Linked DNA regions of Homo sapiens: region 2 is linked to region 1. The links are contacts of gene promoters, found by promoter capture Hi-C in human tissues and cell types (Jung and others, 2019). All regions are on one chromosome and are shown on one strand. The core of a region is centred on a gene start or on the middle of the fragment in contact, and the rest is flanking DNA. Distances in the headings are between cores, read along the strand shown. Region 1 holds the start of DPPA2 (developmental pluripotency associated 2). Region 2 has its middle 43 kb from the start of LINC00488.

The links. The method cuts DNA at HindIII sites, captures the fragments that hold promoters and counts their contacts. A contact is called where the count stands out against the background at its distance.
Region 2: a contact is called between a fragment that was not itself captured here and the fragment with the promoter of DPPA2 in region 1, in 3 of the 25 tissues and cell types used here (adrenal gland, aorta and small bowel).

What each region holds. Positions count from the first base shown.
Region 1 is chr3:109,315,017-109,318,208 of GRCh38, forward strand. DPPA2 (developmental pluripotency associated 2) reads right to left here and starts at 1,501. Exons shown (of 9, transcript NM_138815.4): 1 at 1,268-1,501. The HindIII fragment of the contact is 15,346 bases long and covers 1-3,192 here.
Region 2 is chr3:109,219,362-109,222,677 of GRCh38, forward strand. No RefSeq gene overlaps it. Among named protein-coding and RNA genes, the nearest start is that of LINC00488, 43 kb to the left of the region's middle. The HindIII fragment of the contact is 7,551 bases long and covers 1-3,316 here.

The sequences.
Region 1 (3,192 bases), core at 251-2,750:
GATCGCACCACTGCACTCCAGCTTCGCGAGACTCTGTCTCAACAAGTGAAAGAAGGAAAGAAAGAAGAAAAAAAAATAGGTGAAACTTGAAAGAAAACTGAAAATGACAAACACTTGTTGACAAGTTCCAATGGAATGAACAGAATGTTTTAGAACAGTTATAAGACGATATTGGTAACAAATTACTTATTACGAAGGGAATGGAAAAAAGATTCAGAGCATTTTACGCAGGTATTTTATACCTGATTTATGCACGGGGGTATGTTACTCACTGAAAGATTCCAGATTTAAATTGTGGGGGTTGGATAACATAATCTCTCTTCGATCTAGTTCTAAATACAAATATTAAGCCTGCAATAATATTGAGCTGGTTGGAGGAGAAGGATTTGGCTGTTCAGAATAGCAACAAGAGCCAAAACACCAAGGCAAGTGGTGGAGTAACGAAGGCAGAAGGAACGATGCACTTAGGAATTGCTGGAGCCTAATGTTGGACACGGAATGTGGCAAAATATGAAGCAGGTGTTCTCATAGGTCACTCTAAGAAGCCAGAGCAACTAAAGGAAATTTCATTCACCAATAATATGGCAGCACTGGACAACCAAGTACCTTTACAATGGGCTTTTTCTGTCCCTGGGAAAATGATTTGGTCCATTAATCTCAGGACCCAGGGTGACCATGGTCCATTTAAGTTACTAGTGTATTTAACACATTCAAAATATTGTCTGGACCTGGCACGGTGGCTCATGTCTGTAATCCTTTGGGAGGCCTTTGGGAGGCCGAGGAAGGACGACCACTTGAGTCCAGAAGTTCGAGACCAGCCTGGGCAATATAGTGAGACCTCATCTCTATGAATAAATAAATAAATAAATAAATTTACAAAAGAAAAAAATGTAGTCTGAAAAAGCTCAGCTTCAGTTTACTGAGGAACTGATTGGAAAAATAAATTATGAGGCCCCACCCCACCACCCAAGACATCCTGAATCAGATCATGGAGGGTGAGGCTGAGGGGCTGAGGAATCTGTGCTTCCACAAGCCCTCCAGGTAATTTTTTCTTTTTTTCTTTTTTTAGACAGGCTCTGACGCCCAGGCTGGAGTGCGGTGGCGCGATCATAGCTCACTGCAGCCTCGACCTCCTGGACTCAAGCGATCTTCCCACTACAGCCCATGCCGTCCCACCCCCGCCCCTCCCCCCACACTCCAGTAGTTGGGATTACAGGCCCGCGCCACCACGCCCCGCTAATATTTAAATTTTTTGTAGAGAGGAGACCTGGGATGGAAGGAGATTGCGGGGACGGAGAGGATGTGGGTAGGGGGCCTCACTGTGTTGCCCAGGCTGGTCTTGAATTCCTGGCTGAGTTCCCAGACTCAAGTTGATCCTCCCTCCGCAGCCTTCGGAGTGGGTGGGACTACAGGCCTGCACCGCCACGCCCAGCCCTCCGGACGATTCTTAAGCTCCTGAAGTCTAGAAGCCTTAGCTAGATCAGGCCATAAACAAAGGGCTTTGGAGACAGGCAGTCCGCGGCAGATAATGATCGGAATTCCGGCTCCTCCCTTCCAGGGTGGAACCTGAATGCAGCCCTCTAAGATGCAGCCAGGAAAGCACTCCGCCTACCCGGTTGGGTGTGGCCCCTGGTGCTTTGAATGGGCAATTTAGAGGAAAGCTGACCTAATGGCCTGAGTTGATCCTAATGCCTTAGGTAGGGACAGGATTTCGAGTGGGAAGACCATTTCATTACCATGTTTTCTTTTCTTCATTGCATTTTTTACAATATAATCATTTTAGGCCGGGCGCGGTGGCTCACGTCTGTAATCCCAGCACTTTGGGAGGCGGAGGCGGGCGGATCACCTGAGGTCAGGAGTTCAAGACCAGTCTGGCTAACATGGCGAAACCCCGTCTCTACTAAAAATACAAAAATTCGCCGGGCATGGTGGCACATGCCTGTAATCCGAGCTACTAGGGAGACTGAGGCAGAACAATCGCTTGAACCCGGGAGGCGGAGGTTGCGGTGAGCCGAGATTGCGCCATTGCACTCCAGCCTGGGCAACAAGAGCGAAACTCCGTCTCAAAAAAAAAAAAAAAGTAAGAAAATCTATGAAAATCTATGGGAAGAATCTATATTGGAATAGCTTAGGGAAACTTTAGAGAAGATTACACTTTTTGAGGAAGAGCTTACCAGTCGTGGAAGTAGTCAATACAAACAGGGAACAGACTCCCTAGCTACTCGGGAGTCTGAGGCACGAGAATCGCTTGAACCCAGGAGGTGGAGATTGCAGTGAGCCAAGATCACGCCACTGCACTCCAGCCTGGGCGACAGAGAGAGACTCTGTCCCCCCAAAAAAAAAAAAAAAAAAATCTTATTTGTTTTCCTGGGGTTTTTTCCCCAGCTTTTTGAGAATGTTTTATTATGGGAAGGTTCAAACATGTACAAAAGTGTGTCTACTTTTTGTCATAGTAATTTACTTACAGCCAGTCTGGTTACATCTAAATTGCCGTCCATTCCTCCTCCATGGGTTATTTTGAAACAAGTGCCAGATCGCCTATGATTTCGTTCATAAATTCAGGGAAAAGGCCGGTGCCATGGCTCACACCTGTAATCTCAGCACGTCAGGAGGCCGAGGTGGCAGGAACAGTTGAGCCCAAGAGTATGAGACCAGCCTCGGCAAGATAGTGAGATCTCATTGTTACCAAAAAAATAAAAATGAAAATAAAAATAAAATAACCGGGCGTGTGGGTGTGGTGAGACATGCCTGTGGTCCTAGCTACTCAGGGGGCTGAGGTCAGAGGATCCCTTCAGCCCAGGAGCCCGAGGCTGCAGTGAGGCTGTCTCAATAAATAAATAAATAAATCCAGGGGGAAAAAATACTTCGTTCCTATTATAACTACGATATCCTTTTTACATCTAAACATAATTTAAAAAATCATTATTTAATATTATCAAAGTATTCAAATATATGTTATGTTCAAATATCCAGCAGTATTCAAAACTCCAATTATCTGGCTGGGCACCGTGGCTCACGCCTGTAATCCCAGCACTTTGGGAGGCCAAGGCAGGTGGATTACCTGATGTCAGGAGTTTGAGACCAGCCGGCCAACATGGAGAAACCCTGTCTGTACTAAAAATACAAAAATTAGCCAGGCATGGTGGCACGCACCTGTAGTTCCAGCTACTGGTGGGGGCTGAGGCAGGAGAA
Region 2 (3,316 bases), core at 300-2,799, 96 kb before region 1:
AAGCTTCCAGAGGAAGGATCAGGCAGCAATATATGCTGTTCTGCAGCATCTGCTGGTGATACCCAGGCAAACAGGGGTCTGGAATGGACCTCCAACAAACTCCAACAGACCTGCATTTGAGGGACCTGACTCTCAGAAGGAGAACTAACAAACAGAAAGGAATAGAATCAACATCAACAAAAAGGACATCCACACCAAAACTCCACCTGTAGGTCACCAGCATCAAAGACCAAAGATAAATAAAACCACAAAGATGGGGAGAAACCAGAGCAGAAAAGCTGAAAATTCTAAAAACCAGAGCACCTCTTCTCCTCCAAAGGATTGCATCTCCTTGCCAGCAATGGAACAAAGCTGGATGGAGAATGACTTTGATGAGTTCACAGAAGTAGGCTTCAGAAAGTCGGTAATAACAAACTTCTCCGAGCTAAAGGAGGATGTTCGAACCCATCGCAAGGAAGCTAAAAACCTTGAAAAAAGATTAGACGAATGGCTAACTAGAATAAACAGTGTAGAGAAGACTTTAAATGACCTGATGGAGCTGAAAACCATGGCACGAGAACTATGTGACACATGCACAAAATTCAATAGCCAATTTGATCAAGTGGAAGAAAGGGTATCAGTGATTGAAGATCAAATGAATGAAATAAAACGAGGAGACAAGTTTAGAGAAAAAAGTGTAAAAAGAAATGAACAAAGCCTCCAAGAAATATGGGACTACATGAAAAGACCAAATCTACATTTGATTGGTATACCTGAAAGTGATGGGGAGAATGGAACCAAGCTGGAAAACACTCTGCAGGATATTATCCAGGAGAACTTCCCCAACCTAGCAAGGCAGGCCAACATTCAGATTCAGGAAATACAGAGAACGCCACAAAGATACTCCTCGAGAAAAGCAACCCCAAGACATATAATTGTCAGATTCATCAAGGTTGAAATGAAGGAAAAAATGTTAAGGGCAGCCAGAGAGAAAGGTTGGGTTACCCACAAAGGGAAGCCCATCAGACCAACAGCGGATCTCTCAGCAGAAACTCTACAAGCCAGAAGAGAGCGGGGGCCAATATCCAACATTCTTAAAGAAAAGAATTTTCAACCCAGAATTTCATATCCAGCCAAACTAAGCTTCATAAGTGAAGGAGAAATAAAATCCTATAAAGACACATGCACACGTATGTTTATTGCGGCACTATTCACAATAGCAAAAACTTGGAATCAACCCAAATGTCCATCAATGATAGACTAGATAAAGAATATGTGGCACATATACACCATGGAATACGCGCAGCCATAAAAAAAGGATGAGTTCATGTCCTTTGCAGGGACATGGATGAAGCTGGAAACCACCATTCTGAACAAACTATCACAAGGATGGAAAATCAAACACCACATGTTCTCACTCATAGGTGGGAATTGAACAATGAGAACACTTGGACACAGGGCAGGGAACATCACACATGGGGGCCTGTCATGGGGTGGGGGGCAAGGGGAGGGATAGCATTAGGAGAAATACCTAATGTAAATGACGAGTTAATGGGTGCAGCAAACCAACATGGCACATGTATACATATGTAACAAACCTGCACGTTGTGCACATGTACCCTAGAACTTAAAGTATAATAATAATAAATAAATAAATAAATAAATAATAAAGTTGATTTCTAGTTTAAAAAAAAGTGTTTGGAAGAGCCTCTGGTACACGGTCAGTGCTCAGTAAATACTAACCATGATTATTATTGTTATTATTAGAAATTATTTCAAGGAGGAGCCCCAGACCCTGAAGAGTAGTAATAACTGCCATTTATTGAGCACTTACTACATGCCAGGGAGTCTGCTAAAGGTTCCATATGTGTTTATGGAACCAAGCCAAGACCTCATTTAGGCCTTGCCACAGATCCCGTGAGCCTACATACCATTAAACACACTCTACAGATGAGCAACTGAGGATTCAGAGAGTTCAAAGTATGTTGCTCAAAGTGGTAACAATTAAGTGCCCAAACTCTCTTCTCATCTGGTCCTCCCTCCTGATCCTGCTTCCTTTGTCTACAGAAAAAAAGCAATTTTAACCCCAGAGAAATTGAAAGAATCTGGTTTTTGAGGACTGGACTGTTTTTAAGGACTTGGGGGAGGTGGTATTAAGGGGTTAGAGGACAGATTTTATAAACTTCTGGTTATAACTTTCTGGTTAGAGATTTTGCAACATTTAAAATGTGGCATGATGACCAGTGATGAGCATTTTTTCATGGCTTCCAATCCTGCACCTTCCACCTAATAAATCTAAACAAAATTACAAACTTCCAGGTCCTCATCTTTTTTTTTTTTTTTTTTTTTTTTGAGATGGCGTCTCACTCTGTCACCCAGGCTGAAATGCAGTGGCACAATCTTGGCTCGCTGCAACCTCCGCCTCCTGGGCTCAAGTAATCCTCCCACCTCAGCCTCCTGAGTAGCTGGGAACACAGGCACATGCCACCACGCCTGGCTAATTTTTTGTATTTTTGGTAGTGATGGGGTTTCATCATGTTGCCCATGCTGGTCTTGAGCTCCTGAGTTCAAGCAATCCACCTACTTCCAAAGTGCTGGGATTACAGGCATGAGCCACTGCACTCAACTTTTAAATGTTTGTTTCGTCTCTAAGGAATAAATGAGATCATTGTAATGTACGTAAAACAATTGACACAGAATAGTCACTTGATAAATATAACTATTAATTTTAGAGCATAACTCATATGTTTTATAATGACCTAAATTTTACCTGCAAAACTACTCTCAGAAATTATGTTAATCTTTAAAAACTCATGATAGCCACCAAAAATGTTTTTCATAAATATTTTGATCTTAGAACTCTTAGAAAGAAAATCACATAACTACATTGCTTTTCAATACTTACACTTATATTCTAATTGTAGTTTTGATCCTACACTGAAAAAAAATAAAAATTTTAAAAAATGAATTTATCTCTTATGGTCAAGCCCACAGAAATGATCCTTTTAAAGTGAATACTAACCAAAAGCTCATAGACCAATGAAACATTTTAGAGACCCCTGAAATAAAGCTGCACACCTACACCAGCTCATCTTCAACAAAGTTGACAAAAATGAACAATGAGGAAAGTACACTTTATTCAATAAATGTTGTTGGGAAAACTGGCTAACCATATGCAGAAGAATGAAATTGGACCCCTACCTATTACCATATACAAAAATTAACTCAAGATGCATTAAAGACTTAAATGTAAGACCTCAAACTACAAAAGTTCTAGAGGAAAATCTAGGAAATATTCTTCTAGACACTGGCCTAGGCAAAAAATTTATGATGAGGA